Regions from separate parts of the Homo sapiens genome. Here region 1 is linked to region 2. Evidence: promoter capture Hi-C in 16 types of primary human blood cells and fetal thymus (Javierre and others, 2016). All regions are on one chromosome and are shown on one strand. The core of a region is centred on a gene start or on the middle of the fragment in contact, and the rest is flanking DNA. Distances in the headings are between cores, read along the strand shown.

Region 1 (6,020 bases), core at 1,867-4,366, 460 kb after region 2:
CTAATTGATGACTGTTTCTTAGTTCTGCATGTCCAGAAACTTAATTTTAATAGCAGACAGAGATTCAGTCTTTTGGGAATGGACTCATGCTGAGTTCAAAAGAGACCAATAAGTAAACCAAAAGAAATAAAAATAATTAGGTTCATTCTTTCCCAAAATAATATCTATCTTAATAGGAAATAAATTATAGTTAGATTACTTAGTGAGCCTGTAATGAGAAAGTGGTGTAGGTCATGTGATTTTATGTTAAATGGCACCAGTATGTGACATTCTTCTTCCCATTTTTTTCATCTGTCAAGACCAGACCATTTGGATTGGCATCCTCAACTTTTTCTATTTTTCTAGGTTTCTTGGTTGGCCACGCACTCCCACATATTTATTTTTGAAATTGGGTCTCACTCTGTTGCCCAAGCTGGAGTACAAGTGGTACAATCATAGCTCACTGCAGCCTCAGTCTCCTGGGCTCAAGCCATCCTCTCACTCACCTCAGCTTCCCAAGTAGCTGGGACTACAGGCATGTGCCACTGCATCTGGCTAAATTTTTTACATTTTTTGAAGAGACAGGTTCTCAATATGTTGCCCAGGCAGGCCTTGCACTCCTGAGTTCAAGTGATCCTCACACCTCGGCCTCCCAAAGTGCTGGGATTACAGGCACTGTAATTTTTTTTGGGGGGTGGGGGCAGCGGTGGGGGAATGCTTATGAATCATGAAAGATTTTTTTCCCTGAAGTACCTTTGTACATAGCTAATTATCCATTAGGTGTTTACTTTATTAATAATTTGTAGTATTAGTAGTGCCTTCTCTCTGTGGTTGGCCTACTGCTATGTATACAGTTAAAATTGTATATCCTGAAATTCTTGGTTTTACCTATTAGCTTTTATTGTGTCCTTTTTAAATTTTTTATTTATTTTTTATTGTGTCCTTTTTATGTATAAGCACTATATACAGTGCAGGATGAAGAAATACAAAATATGGTTTTTAACCTATGTGTTGCTAAAATATGGAAAGCCAAGATACATACATGTGTTAAGAGATTCATCGTAATTTAAGGCTTTCCGAATAAGTGCCAAAGCAAGCAGCAATACAAACAAAATATTTTGGAAGGCGAAAGAGGTTACTGTGAGTTTGACAGTTAAGGAAAATTACACGGAAAAGTTGGGATTTAGGCAAAACCATGATATATAGATAATATTCCAGACAAGCTGGGGGAGATATTTCAGTGATGGGGAACGGTGTGAGCAAAACTGCAGAGAAGGAAAAGAATATGGAACAGTTATGGGAAAGGAGTTAGAGATGTTTGGCTAATGAAAGACTCCAGTGCCTACACACTTGAAACACAAGAGTCCAAATTCCTAGTGAGGTCACAATTCAGATAATAAAAACATTCTGAGGATTTGTTTTTCTCCTACCAAAAAAGAAAGCCAAAGTTTGATTCAAGGTGTCACAAACTGAGATATCAGCAGTAAAGGACCAATGCAAAATAGGCAAGCTAACAGCTAAGCAGCATGCTCCACCATAGATCTTAAGGAGATGAATAAGCAGATGCACACACTCACAACCTAAAAACAAGACAGAAGCACTGATACTGAGCAGCTCACCATCAGTCCATTTATTTCCATTTCATTCTGTTCAGAGCCAGTTAAAAATGAGCATGATCTAGAAGGCTGCAAGTAATGACAGCTGAAAACAGCTGTCTGGGGAGGTGGTGTGGATTTAGAAGCACATGAGGTTCTTTGGTAGAAGCAATTCTTTGAAAATAAGACTAGAAAGATAGATTGGTATTTCCAGTTGTAGAGAATCTTGAATAAATGATATGTTAGTTTGAATTTTCATTTATAGGGCATGAGAATTTTACTGAAAGCTTTTCAGCCATGAGCAAGAAGTGTCCAGGGTTTAATAGAAATCTAACTTAACTTCACCTTATGTGTTTAATATCTTAATCTTTTTAGAACTTTAAAAAATACACTTCTTGTATATTTAAAACATTTCTAGTAACCATGAACATATAATTTTTGATCAAAATTTATGTTTAGGCTAACTTCTGAATTTGAAAATAGGCTTTCTCTCGCATTTCATAGTTACTGTCCAGCCTATCTCTCTTCCAACATCCTCATCCTTGACAATCAAAATTTCACTTTAAAAAGCTACTATCAAGTCTCAGTGTCTGTCTTGGAAAGTAGTCTGTGAGTTTTATTTGTGCAATATTCGGGGAGTGTAACTTGCATAGTTTCTCTGGTATGTGTCTTCAGTTGAGTTCCATGCAGCAGGTGGTCCGAGAGAAAGATGCCCGCTTTGAAACACAAGTTCGTCTTCATGAAGATGAGCTTCTTCAGTTAGTAACCCAGGCAGATGTGGAAACAGAGATGCAACAGGTGTGTTGCTAAAACTCGGTAGAATGACTGTCATTTTGGTTAATATTTAATCCATCACAGCCAATTTCCTACCCTTACCCACTGCTCTTCACTTGGTGTTAGTGTTTTCCTTATTGGCCTCTTTTGTGTCCTTGTCTTCTGTTGCATAAAAATTATTTATTTTTTCTTATCCTTTTCTTGCCTTTTACCCCTCTAATCAGGTTGTTGGTGCTCAAAAGCTGAGTTTAGTTGGTGAATTTATGTGGTAGTCAAAAATTGGTTTCTCTTCAGTTTTCTGATTATAGCTACCTTTGTGCATTACACACCTAACCCAAAGCTTCAAATCAATGAAGTCAGTTTTAAATATTTAAAAAATTAGAGAAGACAAAGAATGATTTTGAAGACATGAAGTCTTTTATTAGATCAGTAATTCTTTTTTAAAAAAATTTGAGTAGATTTTGAAAATTGGCTTCATTGTATTTGAGTTCACCATCTACTAACTCAAAGTATTTTATTTCACTTAGTGTGTAGTGCATTGTGGTACTGAAAGGCACTTCAGTGATACTTTATGTTTGATCTGTTTAATTAGATTGAAAATTAATTAGAATTAATTAGAACGGAAACTTTTAAGTTCTAAGCAATCTTTCAGAATGCACCACTAAATAAAGTTTTAGAATACAACATATTATTAAGTAGAATACTAATTGTATATGTGTATCATTGCTTTATTTATTCAACAATTTTTTTTCAAGTGCCTGCCCAGTGCATGAAACTAGGAGAAGAGAAATGATTCTTGCCTGCAGAGAATGTTCTCTTGGGTGGGTAAGATGTACATGTACCTATGCTATCTAGGTACAGGTTATTAACTGTATGATTTTGAAGGCAGATATGTGTTATTGTTTTTTCTAATTTTTAAAGAGACTCCCTAATTCAGGGACTTGCTTGTGTCTGGGTCTGGTTGTTGTTGGTGCTCTGGAGAAGACATTTTGGAGACTCTTCGTTGCTGCTGGATGGGGGGAGCATGGCATGCTGGTCTCCCACTCTTTAAACTGTCATTTTCAACACCCCAAAATTTAAGTATACAAATCTACATGACATTTTGAAAGATAAGCAAATACAAGCACTCATTTGTTAGCATATTATGTCTAAAATGTTTTCTTCTCAGAAATTGAGGGTGCTGCAAAGGAAGCTTGAGGAACACGAAGAATCCTTGGTGGGCCGTGCTCAGGTCGTTGACTTGCTGCAACAGGAGCTGACTGCTGCTGAGCAGAGAAACCAGGTACTGCCTTTTAATCTTTACTTCCTGCCTTGGAGGGTATTCATTTCCACTTTCGTTTGCCAGGCAGTAGATATAAAAGCCTATTTAAAGTCTTCAGAGAATTGATGCCATTTATTCATTCTTTCAACAAATACCTCGTACTTAAGTGGTGGGGATGCAGTACAATTATGAGCAAAACTAAATACAGTTCTTTCCCTCATGGAGCATACATTGCACTTCTTTATTGTTGCTCTTTCCCTTTGCCATTTTAGATCTAGGGTCCTAGTTTATCTAGAATGTCATACAGATTGAGTATGCCTAATCTGAAAATCCAAAATGCTGCAAAATCTGAAATTTTCTGAGCACCAACATGACACCACAAGTGGAAAATGCCACAACTGACCTTGTGGAACAGGGTAACAGATCAAAGGCAAATATGCACAAAATCATTTAAAATACTGTATAAAATTATCTTTAGGCTATGTGTATACGATGTATATGAAACAAATGAATTTCATGTTTAGACTTGCGTCCTATCCCAAGATATCCAAGATATTCCACCATCTGAAAAAAATGGAAAACTAAAATACTTCTGGTCCCAAGCATTTAGAATAAGGGATACTTGACCTGTATTATCCTTTAGTGAGTTTCTTTTTCATCAGTTACTCTTCTCTGTCTTGAATGGTTTTTGTGCTTTATGTACAGCCCATCTTTTCTTGTTTTTGTAAATTGACCTTCTGTTAGATTGAAATGATCTCGTTCTGCAATATTCTCTTGAGTATGAAGGTAATCAGTAATGCTGATCTGACTATAATCCATCCTGCCATTTTCTTTCTCATATTGTCCTGATCTTCATTCTCATTGAATTCCATTGAATTCCACTTTGCTTCTCTAGTATGTTAATTCTTCCTTACCCTTGCTCCTTTCTGTGTCCTATATGGACCCATGCTTGACAGTTTGAACTACCTTTTTTCTACCCCTTGGATTCCTTGTGTTCCTATCCTGTCACATCCAAGTAGTCTCATCATAATGCAGAATTGGTGCTATAGTCCACATTCTCTGTTTGTTTTTCTGGGTGCCTGTGTGCTGCTGGGGAGTCAGCCATCTCCTCTCTTCTTAATTTTCAACTCTCCTTCTTGAGAAGGGCTTTCTCTCTAGCATAGAAACATGTTCCCATTTTTTTCCATCCTATAAGAAAAAGCACTTTACAATGCTTGTTGAAATGAAATAATGTATTTATGGCTCATGAGACTTTGTCTTTTTTCTTAGATTCTCTCTCAGCAGTTACAGCAGATGGAAGCTGAGCATAATACTTTGAGGAACACTGTGGAAACAGAAAGAGAGGAGTCCAAGATTCTACTGGAAAAGATGGAACTTGAAGTGGCAGAGAGAAAATTATCCTTCCATAATCTGCAGGAAGAAATGCATCATCTTTTAGAACAGTTTGAGCAAGCAGGCCAAGCCCAGGCTGAACTAGAGTCTCGGTATAGTGCTTTGGAGCAGAAGCACAAAGCAGAAATGGAAGAGAAGACCTCTCATATTTTGAGTCTTCAAAAGACTGGACAAGAGCTGCAGTCTGCCTGTGATGCTCTAAAGGATCAAAATTCAAAGCTTCTCCAAGATAAGAATGAGCAAGCAGTTCAGTCAGCCCAGACCATTCAGCAACTGGAAGGTCAGTAGCTGATTGCTTTTGAAGTCCACATCTCTACCATCTGAGTGGCTTGTATTTCATATTTTCAGGGATCTGTTAATGAAATCTGTACTCAAACCAATTGAACCAATAGAAGGACTGAGAAAAACAGCTCTTCTGAACTTCTTGATGCATTTTTCTTGCCTCTGACTGGCTATAATCTTTCTTAATATTATAATTATCATTACAATACTAAAAATGTGATAGTGATGTTCCAGATATTAAATAGAATGCTATGTTAAATATGACTGATCTGAAGGATTCAATGACTGAAACGAGAAGGATTTGAATTAGTTTTTGGAAAACTCAGGCCAGATCTAGGTGCATAGGTTAGGAGACTAAATTGCATGGAGTTATCCATAAATCTGAAGAAGGATGGATCTCAGTGCTTTTCTTATAGGTGAAAATCTCTTTTCACCTGATTTCTTGTCTTACAGGTGAAAATTTATCCTTTATGAAGGTATAAAGGAAACTTTTAAAAAATGTGTTATTATAAAAGTAATATGTGCCTATAAAAAATTGAACATTTTAGAACTTTATAAATTAAAAAGTGAAACTTCCTCAACACCAATACTCCATCTCACCAATCCTCTTCCCCAAATTATAACCTTTACTAATATATTGACATAGACATAAAGGAAAGATTTTAGAAACAATTAAGTTGAAAATTTGTATTGAATAACTGAATGTTAGCCAGACAGTTTTGTTTTTTGTTTTTTTT
Region 2 (5,786 bases), core at 1,472-3,971:
CTCTTCATTATACCCCTACCCTATCACAAGGATCAGTCATTATTTTCTCACCCTCTCCTCCCCACTCTCTTCCACCAAAAAGTCTTAGAAGTGGCAGCTTCTAATCAGCCTGAACTTTCTGACATGGTTGGGATCCAGTTCAAGGTTATGCAATATGAAAAGATAAACAAAATAAAGGAAAAATGTGGAGACTGGAGTACCTATTAGGTGATTTTAAACAATGGACACAGCTCCTAAAGAACCTGCTAATTCAGTAAAAAAGAAAATTTTTAACTAATTTAATTTCAACCACTCTGTTTTATCATAGAGACAAAAACTGGTTGATTTGCTGATTTTTTTTTTTCACTTACTATGTTTTGGTCTAGCATAGAAGTCTTGGAACAGAGCTGACTGTGCTGTATTGGCAGGAAGTAACTCGCATGTGTGGTCTCTTAGAAATTATATGGAGACTGTTCCCAAATGACAGGGCTCTGTGCTTGAGGAGTCTTCTCTACTCAAGGGTCTTGGCCTGCTTCTTCCTTCCTACTTCCCCTCCAACTTCTCCTACATCTTCCCCTCCCCTTTTGTCCACCACAAAGCTTTGTCCCTCAGCCCCTTCATTGGACACCTGGGAGGCAGGTATAAAGCACCCGCTCTCCCAGGTTCCTACAGAGGAAAAATCCTAGGCATGCCAGTTAGGGAATCCTGGAGTGGAGATGGGAAAAGCAACAGCAAGGTGTGACTGATGAAGTTCTGTTTTAAGGAATAGGAACTACTGTGGTGTTAAGTTCTGGAAATCCAGAGCATTTCAGAAAACAGCCTGCATTATTTCTCTCAGTAACAGACTACCTAAACTGCACTTGGAAGATCCAGTTTAAGGGGAAAGATAAGTGTGTTTAGAACTTGACATGGACTCTTCCCCAATGTGCCTTTTCTTCAAATCTCTGGGATAATTGAAGCAAGTAAACGAAATGTCTTCTCGTTAGTAGGCTCCCTACCCTGAGGACCACCTTGTGAAAAATATTTGAGGACAAGAGAGGCGTTGCAAGGAGGAACACTGGAGATTAAGGGATGTGGGCAGTGGTGGTGACATCATTTTCTGGATAAAGAATCAAAAGACGGCGACAGAACACGTAGAGTGGGAAAGGCTATGGGTGTAGAAAGGAGACAGCAATAGACACACATGCTAGTGCACGCATTGCCTGTAGAAGATAAATGTTTGTATTATTTGACTTAAAAAAAGAAACATATGCATGTTATCTATTGAAAGCTATAATGTTAAAATAATGATAAGACTCCATCAGTCTGGTATGCCTTTTTTTTTTCTCCCCAGGAAATACACATGGAGGCTGGTGCTCAGGCCCCGGGAACTGACAATCTAATTTGATGCCACTGAAGCAAAGTTCCCAAGACAGCTGGTAGCTTGGACCAGGAATCCTGTGGGGGCACTGACGGCCCCTGGGGCCAGAGCTGACTCTGTGGCCCTCCCCTCCATATTCATACACTCTGTAAAAGCTACCTGTCCCCTTGTTAACACGTGGCAAGCGAGTCCTTTCTGACTATATCACAGGCAGAAACAAGGCAGAGGCACAAGAAACTACCAACAGCAGGCGTTTTGGTGCGCGCTCCCGTTCATTCGCGTGGGCGACCCGCTGCCCCTTCTAGGGGCACTGAACAATCCAGTTCTGAGCCGGGGAAAGCCTTGATCCTGTAATCTGGTCCCTACTTTCCCCCACGTTCACGCCCAATGCTCCCAGGCTGGAGCTGCTCCGGCGTGTGCCCCTCGTTCGGCCCGGAGCCCTTGGCCCCCAGACCCCGCCACGGCCCCTCCCCCACCAGGGGCGCTTTCCTCCCGCCCTCCTTGGGTTCCCCGGTCCTACCTGCGCCGCGGCCAGGGCTCCCTCGCACAGAGGCAGCTCCGGCCCCTCGGCCGTGGGTCTCCACGAGGATGAGCTCTGGTCTGATCTCAGGACTGCGCGCAGCCCCGCTCCCTATGCCAAGGTCACGGTCTTGGAGAGGCGCGTCTGGCTCGCTGCGCTCCCGGCGCCCGCCTTCGGGTCCGGCCACAGCAGCCCCCGCAGACCCTCTGGGCGGCCGCTGCGGCCCCGGCCCCGGCCCCGGAGCTCCGCCCCTCTCCTGCTCCCCGCCCGCTTGCCCCCTCGGGGTCCCCAACTGCCGAGCCCAGCTCCCCTCGTAGCCCACTCGCGGGCTGCCTTCTAACCCCTACCCCAGTTAGTCCCGGTTCCTTCACCGTCTCCTTAGCCCGCAGAGAGCTTAGCTGACTCTTCAGGGTCGCTGAGGGCGCGTCTTCGGTTCCCCGAGGGCCACAGGCCGGCTCGGGTCCCCAGCAGACGGCGAGCCCCGCGCTTAGGTCCTCTCCTGCCCTCTCCCGTGCCGAGCCAGGGGTTCCCGGCTCTCAAATCCTGTTCCCGCTGTCCTCTTCCCTGACCCCTACTCCTTGGCGATGGAAAGAAGCTTAGGGCGCTTACGACGCCACCAACGTTCTCTGTGCCGAGGGTGGCACAATTTTTTTTTTTCTGATATAAGGCCAGAGATTCACAGTAAAATAAATACAAATCGCGTGCCCAAACTCTTACTCATTCTGCAAGACTCAGGTCAAGCGTTGCCTGTGCCGCAAGACCTCGGTGCTGGCAAACAGCTCCCTCCTTCCACTCTCCTGCGCGAAAGGGCGTGCGGTCCTTCCTGGCTGCAGCCAGGTGCCTGTTGCACTTGGTCTACTCTACCCGACTCCACAGCGCGCTGCTTGGAGGCCCGGACCTGGCCTTGCTTATCCTTGTCCCTAGCCCCTGGCACGGTGCCTGCCACCCATCACAGCACTAGAATATTTTATGAATAAGTGGAAAATTAATTTCTTTTGTAGAAAACCAGTTTTTTTGTATGTGTTTGTTTGTTTTTGGCTTTTTACTCTCAAATAAAGCATACTCCTTTGGGTGGGCAATTTGCTAGGCTCTATAAAGAAACACCAAAAATATTATCCCCTTTAATGCAGTATTCCACCCTTGCGGAAATTTCCAGAACAAAATAATATTCGTGCGGAGATTTTTTTTTTAGCAGGATCATTTGTTACAGAAAATAATTTTAAAAACCACAAAAAGCAAACAGAGCCAAACTGTCAACAGTAGGAAATTTGTTGAATAAATTAGGGTGACTTAATGGGACATTATACAACCATTAAAATGATAAACATCAAGACAGAAGTGCTTCAAATTCTTTTTAGAATAAGGAGGGAGTATGTATTTATTTATAAAGCAAAAAAAAAATAGGAAAACATGAAGTAACATGATAAAATGTTTGCAAAATACTGTTAAGCAAAAAGCAGAAAATTGGGTCGTTTACCATGTTTAAGAACTTCAAATAAAAATGCAGATTTCTTCTCTGCAAAATGGCGATAACATCTACCTCAGGGGGTCCTTGGAGTGTTAAATGAAATAGTCAAGGAAAGTGCCCTGTATAGAATGGATACTCAACAAAGTTTCCATTTCTTTTCTTCAATGGAACACAGACTCAAATCCAGCATGTCAAACACATCCTCATTATGGCCAAGTTCTGCCCATTTGGCTTCCTTTCCCTCAAATACAGGGTAGGAGAAGGAGCTGAGCAAATGCTAAAGCACCAGTGAAGGGGGCAAAATCTGGTTAATAGGAATAAATGTGAAGTCCTCCCTCAGGCCGAAACACCCAGCAATGTAAGTAATGGAGGATGTGGCTCAGTAGTGGTGCCTATCAAAATACCTTAGATTTTATTTTAGTTGGCTACAAGCACAGCTTTGTGAACACCCAAAGGCTGAACGAGTTCAGTTCAAAACCCGAATGAGGCTGCAATCTTAGGCTGAACTGATGCTCTTCACTGGTCGGATTACACCTGGGCATAATGTCCAAATTTGGGCACTATCTTTAAGAAAGTATTACTCTGAAGATCTATTATTGCTTCCATTTTAAAGACGAAGAAACTGATGCATACAGTTTCAGGTATTTAGGGTTGGGTGGCTAGGAGTTGGCAGAGCCAAGAGCTGAACCTGATCAGCTTGACTTACAGTCCTGGTGCTTGATCACTTTACCAGTGTGTCCCAGTGTGTACATCTTCCAGTAGAGATTGGAAGCATGGTATTGGGTGGTACACAGACAATACAATTAGATAACAGTGGATCACAAGGTGAAAAAAGATATGCCCTTTTTACTTCTTTTGTTCCTATGGATTATGTCAAGGAAGGAGTATCATTTTTGTAGTATTTGTCTTTGCACCCCTCTGTAACACTTGCTAATCTCCTGTTTTAACAAAGACAGAGGTTGCCTCTCACTCAGAACCTTTGCTAGGCAACAGCTCCTAAGTAGAATTTAATATCATTGTTTTCTCTTCCATCTGTTATTATTCCTTATGCAGTTAAGTTCCAATTGACATAGTTTTCCACTGACAAAGTGATGTGGTTTCCATTTAAGGTAAATTTTCTTATATGAGAAAAATGAGCAACTTGAAAGAAAGATCTAAAAGAACTAATAGGACCAGTGATGTTTAAATTTTGGAAATACAAGCCCATACTCTATTATGACCAGTGGATAGAAGGAATGACAGAAAGGTTTCAGTCCACAATGAATCAGGGCTGCCTGGGAAGATGCTGAAGGACAGCCTTGGGAGCTCAAACGCTGTGGCTAGAAGCTTTAAAGTTCCTGCCAACCAGGAGAATCTGGGATTCTTGACAGCAGGGCTTCTCAGGTATCTAACCTCTAGAAACACAGATTTTGGAGCAAGTTACATTCACTCCTTTTGGACAGATCCAAAAAAAGGGTTCCAAGTAAGCTCAGAACAATAGCAGCACCTCTGTGACCATGGTATAATTAACAGAGCACTAGCAGATTCTCTCTAAGGTAACTTTTGAAAGAGACAACATTTGGGAGGTTTACACTTCAATCATTTACTCCCTTACACCTTCTTTTGGTATACCCTCTATTCCTAACATCCCCGAGGGCCAAGATGGTGGGGCTGTTCCTCCTTCCTTTCATGTTCCAGCATTTCCCATCCCCAAATTCCATATCGTGTGGCCTCTGTTTCCCCTAAGGCAGCTCCCCTTGCTATTTTTTTAACCCTTTGGACTAGTATTAAAATGGATGTGTGGGGAAAAAAGGGTTTATAGGGTCCCCAGCAGTTAAAAAGTATCTTTGGTATAGGAAATTTATTTTGAAACCATAAAGTCTGAAAATCCATAATGTACAAAACCATAATCTGATTGCCTTATGGTTCAAGAATATTTGGTGAGTAGACATCACCTGGGCCCCTGACTGCTAAGAACAGAAAGCCACTTGGGAACATATAGGGCAGATAAGCTGTAGGGAAAAGACCATTCAGACAGTCCAGTGAAAGGACTAAATGCTTCCACTGGAGGAGCTACATCAGGGGAAGCTTGTTCAATTGGATTAGGAAATTCTTTACTGAGACACCTCTGATGCCTCTCTTTTCCTCACTTACTATCTCCAACCCATCTACAAGTCCTGATGGATTGACTTTCAAAATACATCCAGACTCAACCTCTTTTTCCTACCTCCACCACTACCAGCCCTATCCAAGCTGGCATCATCTTTCTCTTAGAAAACCTCCTATCTGGTTTTCCTGCACTGACCTTGCCTTCCTACAGGCTGTTCTTCCCAAAGCAACTGCAATGACACATTTAAAAATAAAATTGGATTCGGTCATTTCCCTGCTCAAAACCATGTCTGTAATGGATTCCTGTCTCAGAGTGAAATTCAGTAAATTTCATGGCCCATTAAGGCCATCATCATGTGGGTCCTGGCTGT

The links. The method cuts DNA at HindIII sites, captures the fragments that hold promoters and counts their contacts. A CHiCAGO score of 5 or more calls a contact.
Region 1: a contact is called between a fragment that was not itself captured here and the fragment with the promoter of CASR in region 2, in 1 of 17 cell types (total B cells). The highest score is 5.3, in total B cells.

The regions. Positions count from the first base shown.
Region 1 is chr3:121,715,998-121,722,017 of GRCh38, reverse strand. It overlaps GOLGB1 (golgin B1), which reads left to right. Exons shown (of 22, transcript NM_001366282.2): 7 at 2,250-2,372; 8 at 3,517-3,630; 9 at 4,879-5,281. Among named protein-coding and RNA genes, the nearest start is that of GOLGB1, 31 kb to the left of the region's middle. The HindIII fragment of the contact is 852 bases long and covers 2,691-3,542 here.
Region 2 is chr3:122,180,603-122,186,388 of GRCh38, reverse strand. CASR (calcium sensing receptor) reads right to left here and starts at 2,721. Exons shown (of 7, transcript NM_000388.4): 1 at 2,577-2,721. The HindIII fragment of the contact is 2,199 bases long and covers 2,457-4,655 here.